Linked DNA regions of Homo sapiens: region 2 is linked to region 1. The links are contacts of gene promoters, found by promoter capture Hi-C in human tissues and cell types (Jung and others, 2019). All regions are on one chromosome and are shown on one strand. Each heading gives the region's core, a stretch centred on a gene start or on the middle of the fragment in contact. The rest is flanking DNA. Distances are from core to core; before and after follow the strand shown. Region 1 holds the start of ZG16 (zymogen granule protein 16). Region 2 has its middle 13 kb from the start of TLCD3B.

Region 1 (6,761 bases), core at 2,678-5,177:
GGCTGCATTCACTGGGGCAGACATATTGCTAGCCCCGTATTGGCAGTGATGAGGGATCCAGCACTGTAACTGATGAGTTAAAGGACAGCATTTGGGTGCAAGAAGATGGCACTAAAACTGGTGCCTGTGTTTCCCAAGAGGCAGAGCAGCTCTTGTCTGTCACAAAGACCAGCTTCCTCAGGTAGTGTGTGAACCTGCCTGATCTGATGCCCAACATGATGGGTGATCCTTTCACCTGAACTTGGTCCACAGACTGCCTCTCCCTGCCATTGTCTGCTGATTCTCCACCCAGTCCTCCATGGTGTTATCAGGTGCAATGCTTAATTTAGGTGTCAGGTTGGTTCCATTTTGTTAGGATGTGACATATGTTACTCCATTTTGATACTGATAACATTCCTTTTTTTTTTAGATGGAGTCTCACTCTGTCATCCAGGCTGGGGTGCAGTTGTGCTGTCTCAACTCATTGTAACCTCTGCCTCCAGCATTCAAGTGATTCTCATGCCTCAGCCTCCCAAGTAGCTGGGATTACAGGTGACTGCCACCACACCTGGCTAATTTTTGTATTTTTAGTAGAGACAGGGTTTTACCATGTTGGAGGCTTGTCTCCAACTCCTGACCTCAAATGATCTGCCTGCCTTGGCCTCCCAAAGTGCTGGGATTACAGGTGTGAGCACTGTGCCCAGCCAGATATTGATAACTTTTACAAAACTAACGTATACCTTCACTCATTTTAATTTTCTTCCCTTCTTAAAATTTCTTTCCCCAACTACATAACCATCCTCTTCTATCTCTTTTGAGACCTCACCAGTGATCTCTTTTCAGAATCTCCAGCCTCTTTCTCTTTCTTCCTCTTTATCATGTGAACATGCTTGTGACTCTCCTGTCTAGGATTTTAAAAAGACACAAAACCCTTTTTCCTTACACCCCCGAAAACTGACTTGCCTATTTCTGGCAAACCACAGCCAAACTTCTTGAAACACTCGATTCTTGCTGCCTGTGTCTTCTCACCTCCCATTCATTCCTTAATGAGTTCAGCCTAGTGTCAGCCTCCCGCAGTCCACTGTAACCTTCTGATGGCTAAAGCCTAAGAGCATAGTGTGGGCAGGGTTTCCACTGCTGAGAAGGTGGTGGCTTCCTGAGGAAGGAGGAATCCCAGATCTGAGAGGGCTTAGCAGGACACCGGGGCTCATGGGTAGAGGTGAGGAGGAACTGGGCCTGGTAACAGGGCAGGGTCCTCGGGCACAGACTTCAGCTAAGTTTCAGGAGTCAGGTGGGTTCTGGGAAAGAACAAAGGCTAATGGTCCTGGCCACCCACACACAGCAAGTGAGTTCACCACTTTCTCAAGGGGAGGACCAGGGGTGAGGAGAGCTGGAGAGTGGGACATCTGGGGTTTTGGTGTAAGCCACAACTAGGCCTTGCCCTCAGACCCATGACTCCAGTTTGGATCAATGTTCCAAGGAGCTGTCCTTGAAGAGCGTTGATGCAAGCCAGAATCTCATCTCCTCTTGATAAATTATAGCACAAAGCCCAGGATTCTTACATACCTCTCCCTCATCTTCCCATCTTCCAGACAGATGTCCAAAGCCAGCCAGAAGTGAGATTTGCACGTCCCCGGCTAAGTCAGGAGGCAGATATCCCAGCCACAGATGCCCCCACACAGACTAGCCTTAACCATATTTTTTTTATTGAGCCATTTGGATGGGGGTTAGTGATAAGGGAGTTCTTACTCCTCATCACAGTGCCCCTGCCAAGGAGAGGAGGCTCAGCATCTGCTGCAGCTACTGGGGTAAACATCCCAGTGCAGGCCAATGGCATCGATGAGAGAACCAGACCGGCCACTGATGAAGCGGAGCACGGTGTTGGGGTGCAAGGGGACGGCATTGAAACTTGTGCCACTGTCTTTCCCAAAAGACAGATAGCGGCCCTTGTCTGTCACAAATACCAGCTTCTTCAGGTACCACTTGTACTTCCCAGAAACCTGGATCACTGATTCCCCAGGGTGCAGAAAGATCTCCTCCAGGTCTCCGTTGCGACCACCCACATAGTCGCTCCACACCTTGCCATAGCGCACCTGAAGACTGAGGAAGAGGGGAGGAAGGAAGGAGAAAGAAAGGTGATGATAGGGATGAGAGGTCTCTGGCTAGTCCTACAGACTGTGAAGCCTGGGTGAACCCTGGAAGATCCTACAGGGAACTTCAACTCATTTTGCCAACAAAGAGACTCTGTCACCCAGGCTGGAGTGCAGTGGCATGATCTTGGCTCACTGCAGCCTCAACATCCTGGGCTCAGGCAATCCTCCCGCCTCTCCCTCCTGAGTAGTTGAGGCTACAGGTACTCACCACCATGCCTGGCTAATTTTTTTGTTTTTCTTCGGTAGAGATGGGGTCTTGGTACCTGGAGCATGGTTTAAATCCCTGGCATCCCTGGCATCTTGCCCAGGCTGAGCTAGAACTCCTGGCCTCAAGCGATCTGCCTCTGCCTCCCAAAGCATTGTAATGACAGATGTGAGCCACCGCGCCCAGCCAGGAATTCAAAGAATCTTACCCTACGATGTAGTATGTGTTGACTCGGACCCGGAGGGCGGTGATGGGGCCGTCCAACTGGTTGCCAGAATGAGAGAATCGCTTTCCACCACCACCTCCATACTCTCCACTATAGGAGGAAGACCTGGCCTGAACTGGAGGGGCAAGCAGGAGTTGGAGGGAGAAATCTTCCAGGAGTTCAGTTTCTCTGCATCACCCCTGTTCCTCCGACAACTCAGCTCCCCACCCCAAGCCAACCTCCAAAAGCCTTGGCCAACAGCAGTGCCCAAGGCTGCCTTCCCAAGTCCCCAATACCAGGCTCCTGGTATCTCACTTACTGGCATTGCCAGAGGCTGAGGCACAGAGAAGGGCTAGGAGAGCGACTGTCAACATTCTGGGGCTGGAGTGGGAAGAAAAGAGCAAATGAAGATTCACCTTCTTCCTTGTTGACTTGATTGACCCAGGCACTCCTGACCTGCAGCTCAGACCAAGCCTTCTTCGTCCTTCAACTTAGACCTAGCAGACCCAGTCTTGAGCTTAGAAAGGACTGTCCATAGCCTGTAGTCCTGTTCCTCTCTGATGCTACCTTCAATGTCCCTGACCCCTCCAGCTCTCCCTGGTCTGGCTGTAGCCAAGCCCTCCTCTTTTTCTCTCAGGCCTGAAGATGAACTCTAACTATCTGGATTAAGCCTTATTCCATCCTGGCACAAAGCAGAAAAGTTTTCTGAAGTCAGCCAAGCCCAGGTACATTTGGGTTGGTATGGCCATAGCCAGGAAACGAGTTTTCTAAGGAGGGAGTAGAGGACCTCTCCCAAGCAAAGAGATGGCTGAGTTTACTGAGCCCAGAGGCTGAGCAAAGAAAGCCTCATCATCTGTGGTGAATTGGCCTGGATTATGGGGCACCTGGAGCATGGTTTAAATCCCTGGCATCCACCTGGTCTCAAGGAAAGAAGCATTTTAGAGTTGCCTCTATGTTACCTGGGGAGCAAAGTTGGTGACAGAAGGAACTGTGCCAGCACCAGTATCCAAGCAGTGCTGGTGGAACTAGGACAGACAGAGAAGTTGCAGAAGGAGTCGGGACCAGCTCAAGATATTAGACCCCAGGTGCCTGGTCTATGTGTCACTATTCTTTTCTCCACTAACACACATCTGGCCATTTCTATTCTCCTGAACATCCCAGGTGTCCCCAGTCCTTCAGCAGAGACCTAGACAGCTTTGCACCTAAGATTACTGCAGACCCAGAAGCGCCAATTAACTCAAGTCTTTCCTGCCATTCCTTCCAGGCATCCTCTTCGCCAGCTCAGATTTGAATTCCCCCCCAACTCAGATTCAGGCATCTCTGTCACCCCTCACCTGACAGTTTCAGATGCAAAGCAGCCCCCTGGAAACTTCCAGATGTTTTATACCAGGTCCAAGCCCTCCTCCTGCCCTTTATTGTGTGAACCTCACCTCCTGAGCAAACATGAGCAACCTCTTCGGATCAGGTGTCAGGCAGGGTCTGGAACACCTTATCCTGCCTCTACCCCATAGTCAACAGATACTACAGCATAGGGTAAGATTCTCTGAGTTCCTGGCTGGGCATGGTGACTCACACCTGTCATTACAATGCTTTGGGAGGCAGAGGCAGATCGCTTGAGGCCAGGAGTTCTAGCTCAGCCTGGGCAAGAGTGTGAGACCCCATCTCTACCAAAACAAAAAACAAAAACAAAAATTAGCCGGGCATGGTGACGAGCACCTGTAGCCTCAACTAATCAGGAGGGAGGTAGGGAAGATCGCCTGAGCCCAGGACGTTGAGGCTGCAGTGAGACAAGATCACGCCACTGCACTCCAGCCTGGGTGACAGGTGGCAAGCTGGAGTCCACTCTGGGCCAAGTGCCGTATACCAGGAGAAACATAGTAAACTTAAGGTCACCACCAGCAGCTCTAGGTGGGCAAAGTAGCTTATCACCTCTAGGCTTAGTAGGTGCTCTCACCTGAAATCTGCCATCTGTCAGGACAAACAGAGCCCTTCCCAGGCATTCGAAATGTGGATTCTCCCAGAAGGGAATATATTCCCAAAATCTTATACTTACGAGTGCTGACTATTTGCCAGACATTTTTTTCTTTCCCTTTTCTAATATTATGAAAAATCCAAACACATATAAAAGTTTAAAGAATTGTACAGTGGCTGGGCCCAGTGGCTCACACCCATAATCCAACACTTTGGGAAGCTGAGGCAGCTGGATCACCTGAGGTCAGGAGTTTGAGACCAGCTTGGCCAACATGGCGAAACCCCATCTGTACTAAAAATACAAAAAGTAGCTGGGTGTGATGGCAGGTGCCTGTGATCCCAGCTAGTCAGGAGACTGAGGCAGGAGAATCACTTGAACCTGAGGGGCAGAGGTTGCAGTGAGCTGAGATCACTCCACTGCACTCTAGCCTGGGCGACAGAGTGAGACTCCATCTCAAAAAAAAAAAAAAAAAAAACAAAAGAATCGTATAGCAAGACTGGGTGCAGTGGCTCATGCCTGTAATCCCGGCACTTTGAGAGGTCAAAGCAGGAGGACTGCTTAAGCTCAGGAGTTCAGGACCAACATGGGCAACATAGGGAGATCTCGTCTCTACAAAAAATAAAACAATTAGCCAGGCATGGTGGTGCACACCTGTGATCCCAGCTAGTCAGGAGGCTGAGGCAAGAGGATCACTTGAGCTGAGGAGGTCAAAGTTGCAGTGAGCCATGATCGAAACATCAAGTCTCAAAAAAAGGAAAAAAAAAAAAAGAATTGTATAGTGGACACTTATATAACCACTGTATAGATTCTACTATGGTTAATATTTTGCTGTAATTGCTTTTTTTTCTTTCTTCTTTTTGGAGACACAGTCTTGCTCTATCCCTCAGGCTGGAGGGCAGTGGCGCGATCTCGGCTCACTATAATCTCTGCTTCCCAGGTTCAAGCGATTCTCCTGCCTCAGCCTCCCGAGTAGCTGGGATTACAGGCATGCGCCACCACGCCCAGCTAATTTTTGTAATTTTAGTAGAGACAGGGTTTCGCCATGTTTGCCAGGATGGTCTCGATCTCTTGACCTCGTGATCCGCCCACCTCGGCCTCCCAAAGTGCTGGGATTACAGGCGTGAGCCACTGTGCCTGGCCTGCATTTTTTTTTCTATCCACTCATCTATTTATCCCCAATATGCCAAACACTTCCCAAACCATTTCTCTCTGAGAAGGATGACTGGGGCTGCAGGTGCACAGTGAACACGTGCCTATTGCCCCACAGGAAACAGAGTCAGTCCAATGGGAAGTGCAAAGCTAAGGATCCGAAGGTCTACAGGTGTTCCTCTGGGGGTAATTCTGGGCTTTGGGCCCTCAAGTCTCCTGGGTACCATGGCTGAATCTTCCTGGGGCTGTAGGCCGCCCAGGGCCATTGCTTCTTTCTTAGGTCTGTAACACCCCCAGGGGTGATGTCATAGTTTTTTTTTTCTCTGTATGCCCTTCATTTTCAGGACTGATTCCTCTCTGCCTAAAATCCCTAAGACTGACTCCAGGGACCTAGTGCCTGACCCCTCCTGGACTGGCCCTCTGACCTCTCTGAATCAGGAGGTCCAAGAAGAGGGAAGGATGGAGGACCAGAAGGGGCTGGAATAAGTGCTCTCAATTATAAATGACTAGTCAGGCATTCAGAGCACCCCACCCCTCACAGGTTTACCATCTGGGGCCAATGACTCATCCCAGATAGCAAAGGCAGTCCCGCCTGAGGATCTGGAAATGGGGGGAATCCAGGGTGGTGAGTTCTGGGAGTGAAACAGAACAGCAGCCAAAGATTCCACGTTCACTCCTCCCTTCCCCTCTCTTTTTCTCCAAGGTCAGTGTCAGCACATCCTGCTACTATAACTTTCACCTCATTCCAGCCATTTTGTTTTGTGTCTCTCTCCCTCTCTCTTTCCTGGTGACTCTCCTTCCCTTTATGTCTTCATCTTTCCCTGCTCTGGGGAGGATTTTTCTTTCTTTCTTTCTTTCTTTTTTTTTAGATGGAGTCTTGCTCTGTTGCCAGGCTGGAGTGCAGTGGCGCGATCTCGACTCACTTCAACCTCTGCCTCCAGGGTTCAAGCAATTCCCCTGCCTCAGCCTCCTGAGTAGCTGGGACTACAGGTGCGCACCACCACACCCAGATAATTTTTTCTATTTTACTAGAGATGGGGTTTCACCATGTTGGCCAGGATGGTCTCAATCTCCTGACCTTGTGATCCACCTTCCTCA
Region 2 (6,656 bases), core at 435-2,934, 270 kb before region 1:
CACGTACAGTGGCTCACACCTGTAATCCCTGCATTTTGGGAGGCTGAGGCGGGTGGATCACCTGAGGTCAGGAGTTTGAGACCAGCCTGGCCAACATGATGAATACCCAGTCTCTACAAAAAATACAAAAATTAGGCTGGGTGTGGTGGCTCTCACCTGTAATCCCAGCACTGCGGGAGGCCGAGGCAGGCGGATCACTTGAGGTCAGGAGTTCGTGACCAGCCTGGCCAACATGGTAAAACCCTGTCTCTACTAAAAATACAAAAATTAGCCGAGCATGGCGGCACGTGCCTGTAATCCCAGATACTCAGGAAGCTGAGGCAGGAGAATTGCTTGAACCTGGGAGGCAGAGGTTGCAGTGAGCTGAGATTGCACCACTGGACTCCAGCCTGGGTGACAGAGGAAGACTCCATCTCAAAAAAAGAAAAAAACCCAAAACCAAAAAGCAAAAATTAGCCAGGCACGGTGGCACATGCTTGTAGCCCCAGCTACTCAGGAGGCTGAGGTGGGAAGATTGCTTGACCGCTGGGGGCAGAGGTTGCAATGAGCCGAGATTGCGCTAGATAGATAGATAGATAGATAGATAGACAGACAGACAGACAGACAGACAGACAGACAGATGACACAACAGGCAGGGCATGGTGGCTCATGCCTGTAATTCTAGCTACTTAGGAGGCTGAAGAGGGAGGATCAGTTGAGCCCAGGAGTTCAAGGCTACAGGGAGCCATGATCATGCCACTGCACTCCAGCCTGGACGACAGATCGAGATCTCATCTCTAAATATATACATTTTGAATGACTATTAATGAATATCACAATGCGTATGTGTATAGCAACTGTGCTTTACACAGATCTCATTTAATCACCCCAGCAGCCCCAGGTAGAGGTGCTGCTGTTTCATTGATGAGGAGCCCAAGGCTCAGAGGAGTTGAATCCCTTGCACAAGGATGCCAGGCTAGTGACTGGCAGAAGCAGGACTTAGGCCTGGCAATGGGACTTGGTGTGTGCTCAGTGGAGGCTCAGAGAGGTTGTGAAATTTGGCCAAGGTCACACAGCCAGTCTATGTGAGAAGAAAGGGATTGGACCCTTAGCTGTCTGACTCCAATCACCTGCTGTGCCCTCAGCTTTTTCTGGTGTGCAGATAGAGGGTGGGACTGGCATTGCTTGGGACAGTCCCTAACCTGGGACAGGTAAGTAAAAATACTAAATAATAAATGCTCTGGCACGCCAGCCAGGACTTGCCCCAGAGCCCAGGCGGGGGGAATCGGACCCTTCCCTGGGTATCATGTGGGAAACAGGCCACTTCTGGCCACTTATTGTTTACTTATTCACAGCCTTTGATGATATCACACTTGCACACCTCCGCAGGGCACCCGGTGGAGAGGATGAGTGAAACAGCCTGTGGGCGGCAGAACCTGGAAGAACAGAGAACGGTAAACTCAAGGCCAAGGGTAAATTGGGTGGCGGGTCTCTAAGGACTGCCTGGGGGTGAAACTCACCTGGGGAGACAGGCTAGGGGAAGGAAAGATGGTGGCCAAAGTCACAGAGGCTTGGATGGGCCCTCCTATACCCCTGCCCTGCACTGCCCCTCCACACGTGGTGGACTGCCTAATGCTCTATGTTTTGTTTGTTTTTGTTTTGTTTTTGAGACAGGGTCTCCCTCTGTCACCCAGGTTGGAGTGCAGTGGCGCGATCATGGCTCACTGTGGCCTCCACCTCCCTAGCTCAAGCGATCCTCTCACCTCAGCCTCCTAAGTAGCTGGGACTACAGGCACACAGCACCACGCCCAGCTAATTTTTTTGACTTTTTGTAGAGAGGAGGTCTCACTGTGTTGCCCAGCCTGGCCCCATGCTTTCTGGCTGCACACCCAGGCCAGGACAGGCTGGTGTGTCTCCCTTCCTCTGCTGGGATGTCCTGAACACCCATTGACCACCCGACAAGGGTTCAGAGTATGTGGTGCATCCCATCTTGGGTTTATTTTAGGTGGTATGTCAGCAAGAAGACACACACACACACAAACACACACCACACACACAAACACACACAACACACACACACACAAACACACACCAAACACATCAACACACACACCATACACACACCACATAAACACACATACCACACACAAATACACACACACACCACACAAACACACACACCACTCACCACACACATACCACATACACCACACACACACCACATACACCACACACACACACCACACATACCACACACACCACACACACACACCATACACACCACACAAACACACATACCACACACACAAATACACACACACCACACATGCACCACACACACACCACACACACTACACAAACACACCACACACCACACACACCATACCCACGCACACCACACACACAAACCACACACACACACACCACACACACAAACACACACAAACACCACACACACACCCCATACACCCACCCCACACACACCCCACCACACACACACCACACACATCACACACACACCACACACACACCCTGAACAAGCTACTCTCTTTCTCTTTCCAATTCCCTTTCAACGCTTCTGATTACTGCAGGAGAAACTCTCAATTTGCTGCCAGAAACCCTTTAACACCTTTCTCTCTGTGCTTATCTTTTTGTTCTTTTTTTTTTTTTTTTTTTTTTTTTTTGAGATGGAGTCTTGCTTTGTCGCCCAGGCTGGAGTACAGTGACACGATCTTGGCTCACTGAAATCTCCACCTCCTGGGTTCAAGCAATTCTTCTGCCTCAACCTCCTGACTAGCTGGGATTACAGGTGCATGCCACCACGCCCGGCTAATTTTTATATTTTTAGTAGAGATGGGGTTACACCATATTGGCCAGGGGCTGGTCTCGAACCCTTGACCTTAGTTAATCCGCACCCCCCCGCCGCCCGCCGGCCTCCAAAGTGCTGGGATTACAGGCTTGAGCCACTGCGCCCGGCCTGATCTTTCTTTTTTGAACAAGGAGAGAGCCAGCCTCCAGTTCAGAATGAGCAGCTGCCCATAGTATCTAGCTAGAATGTTATAAAATGTGTTTTCATTTTGTATATTTTTTGTTACCTTCTGTTTATCACAGGTGGTACTGGTTTTCTATTTTCCAGAGTGATAAAAAGTTTCCTTTTAAAGTACATGGTAGCCACAGTGGCTTACTTCTGTAATCCCAGCACATTGGGAGGCCAAGGCAGGCAGATCGCCTGAGGTCAGGAGTTTGAGACCAGCCTGGGCAACAGGTTGAAACCCTGTCTCTACTAAAAAAAATACAAACAATTAGCCGAGTGTGGTGGCAGGCACCTGTAATCCCAGCTACTCGGGAGGCTGAGGCAGGAGAATAGCTTAAACCCAGGAGGCGGAGGTTGCAGTGAGCCGAGATCGCACCATTGCCCTCCAGCCTGGGCAACAAGAGCGAAACTTCATCTCAAATGAAAGAAAATAAAGTACATGGTTAGTTTAGCACTGTGGCTCATGCCTGTAATCCCAGCACTCTGGGAGGTGTGAGGCAGGCAGATCACTTGAAGTCGGGAGTTTGAGACCAGCCTGGGCAACATGGTGAAACCCCATCTCTACTAAAAATACAAAAATTAGCCAAGTGTGATGGCACACACTTGTAATCCCAGCTACTCCAGAGGCTGAGGCAGGAGAATCGCTTGAACCTGGGAGGCGGAGGTTGCAGTGAGCTGAGATCGCACCACTGCACTTTAGCTTGGGAGACAGAGTTAAAAAAAAAAAAAAAAGGACATGGTTAGCTCATGCTAACCATGGTGGTTCACACCTATAATCCCAGCACTTTGTGAGGCCGAGGCAGGAGGATCGGGCGTATTGCTGGAGCTCAGGAGTTTGAGACCAGCATGAGCAACATGGCGAAACCCTGTCTCTACCAAAAATACAAAAAATTAGCCGTGCATGGTGGTGGCTTGCCTATGGTCCCAGCTACTCAGGAGGCTGAGGCAGGAGGATCACTTGAGCCTGGCAAATGGAGGTTGCAGGAAGCTGAGATGGCACCACTGCATTCCAGCCTGGGCAACAGAGTGAGAACCCCATCTCAAAAAATAATACATGGTGAAAAACAAAACAAAACGCACAACCTGTGCTCTGAAAATCAGATTACTTGGTTCAAATCCCCGCTTGTGCCACTTTCTACCTGCATGACCTTGAGCAAGCCACACAACCTCTCTGTGCCTCAATTTCCTCATCCGAACAGTGACTGAGAGTATGTCTCACCTGACACGTGATTTGTGCCTATAATCCCAGCACTTCGGGAGGCCAAGGTAGGAGAATGCTTGAGGCCAGGAGTTTGAGACCAACCTGGGCAACAAATCGAGACCCCCATCTGTAGGAAAAACTTAAAAAATAAGCTGGTAGTGATGAGCCTGAGAGCCTGTAGTCCCAGCCACTTGGGAGGCTGAGGCAGGAGGATCCCCTGAGCACAGGAATTTGAGGTTACAGTGAGCTAATCGTACCAGTGTACTTCATCAAGGGAGACAAAATGAGAGACCCCGTCTCAAAAATCAAAACAAAACAAAAACCCCAGTATGTCTGTCTTAAGATTATTGTGGATATTATGTTAGTTAATATATATAAAGGGCTTAGATTGCTGCCGGATGTCTAGTAAATGCTCTATAAATGTTTGCTTTTTTTTTCTTTTGGAGACGGAGTTTTACTCTGTCACCAGGCTGGAGTGCAGTGGTCTGATCTCGGCTCACTGCAGCCTCTGCCTTTCAGTTTCAAGCAATTCTCCTGCCTCAGCTTCCTGAGTAGCTGGGATTACAGGCGTGTGCCACCACGCCTGGCTAATTTTTTTTGTATTTTTAGTAGAAATGGGCTTTCACCATGTTGGTCAGGCTGGTCTCAAACTCCTGACCTCATGATCCACCCACCTCGGCCTCCCAAAGCATTGCGATTACAGGTGTGAGCCACTGTGCCTGGCCTAATGTTTGCTCTTATTAGGTCAAATAGAGAAAAACAACAACAACAATAACAACAACAAAAAACACCCATAACTGACCATAACTGAGGTTTTTTTTTGTGGGGAAACAAAGGTTTGGAGAAGCTAGAGGCTGAGTTAGGATATTGGTAAGTTTCTGGATTCCCAGTCTAATTGCCAGCCATTTCAATCTTCAATAATTAATATAACCTCTCAGCTTCCACTTAATCACTTGCAAAATGGAACTAATCCTATCTCATTGGATGTTGGGATTGATGTGTATAAAGGCGGATCAGAGGCAGGGCACGGTGGCTCATGCCTGTAATCCCAACACTTTGGGAGGCCAAAGCGGGTGGATCACTTGAGGTCAGGAGTTTGAGACCAGCCTGGCCAACATGGTGAAACCCCGTCTCTACTAAAAATACAAAAATTAGCTGGGTGTGGTGGTGGGCGCCTTGGGAGACTGAGGCAGGAGAATCGCTTGAACCCAGCGGGGGCAGATTGCAGTGAGACAAGATCGTGCCACTGCACTCCAGCCTGTGCAAAAGAGTAAAACTCCATCTGAAAAAAATAAAATAAAATAAAATAAATAAGTAAATAAATAAATAAAGGCGGCTCAGAAAATGAGCATTAGGACAATGATGCCTTCTCAACTGGTATAATATCGCCCCCAAGGGGGCAAAAAACTTACTCTTTTTAATATGGAAAAGATATATGTAAATAGACATAAATATATCTGTGTTATTAAACTTTCGTGATAGGCAGCGATTAGAAAAAAAAGTGTAAAAAGGGCTCCTTAGGGGAACAATAATGAAAGAAAAATTGAGAAACACTGCTCTCCAAACCAAGATTTTTCCCGCTTGGCTTGTTTAGCCACTAGTGGGCAGTGAAATTGGCTTAATGGGTCATGATCAATATTTGGTGGAAAAATGGTCTAGAAAATTCCACAGGGCACTGCATATAGTAAGTCAGAATGTGTTGTGCAAAGGTTTTCCATTCAACGTGTGGGTGCATGAACTGCAGTCACAAAATAAAAGATATCTCGGCTGGGCGCCATGGCTCACCTCTGTAATCCCAACACTTTTTTTTTTTTTTTTTTGAGACAGAGTCCCACTCTGTGGCCCAAGCTGGAGTGCAGTGGCGTGATCTCGGCTCACTGCAAGCTCTGTCTCCCAGGTTCATGCCATTCTCCTGCCTCAGCCTCCCAAGTAGCTGGGACTACAGGCACCCACCACCATGCCCAGCTAATTTTTTGTATTTTACAAAAATTACAGGCGTGTGTAATCCCAACACTTTGGTAGGCCAAGGCGGGCAGCTCACTTGAGGTCAGGAGTTCAGACCAGCCTGGCCAATATGGTGTCTCTACTAAGAATACAAAAATTAGCCAGGCGTGGTAGCATGCACCTGTAATCCCAGCTACTTGGGAGGCTGAGGTAGGAGAATCATTTACGCAGGAGGTGGAGGTTGTAGTGAGCTGAGATTGTGCCACTGCACTCCAGCCTGGACAACAGAGTGGGACTCTGTCTCAAAAAAACAAAACAAACAAACAAAAAATAAATACATAAAGAAATAAAATAAAAGATATCTCTTGTGGGTCACTATTAAAAAAATTTAAAGCCATTGCTCAAAACCACAATTTTCTCCTCTCATATTTTCTCTCTCAGACAAGCCTGTGCAGCCTTGGACTGTTTTGCTCTCAACAAGAAGAAATCGACAAGGAA

What was found. Contacts are between HindIII fragments. The study calls those that stand out against the background at their distance.
Region 2: a contact is called between a fragment that was not itself captured here and the fragment with the promoter of ZG16 in region 1, in 1 of the 25 tissues and cell types used here (spleen).

The regions. Positions count from the first base shown.
Region 1 is chr16:29,775,422-29,782,182 of GRCh38, reverse strand. ZG16 (zymogen granule protein 16) reads right to left here and starts at 3,927. Exons shown (of 4, transcript NM_152338.4): 1 at 3,877-3,927; 2 at 2,862-2,923; 3 at 2,546-2,678; 4 at 1-2,079. The coding sequence starts at 2,916. The coding sequence ends at 1,764. RefSeq lists an enhancer at 6,121-6,415. The HindIII fragment of the contact is 7,779 bases long and covers 2,740-6,761 here.
Region 2 is chr16:30,041,100-30,047,755 of GRCh38, reverse strand. It overlaps a transcript of TLCD3B not described here. Among named protein-coding and RNA genes, the nearest start is that of TLCD3B, 13 kb to the right of the region's middle. The HindIII fragment of the contact is 9,203 bases long and covers 1-6,285 here.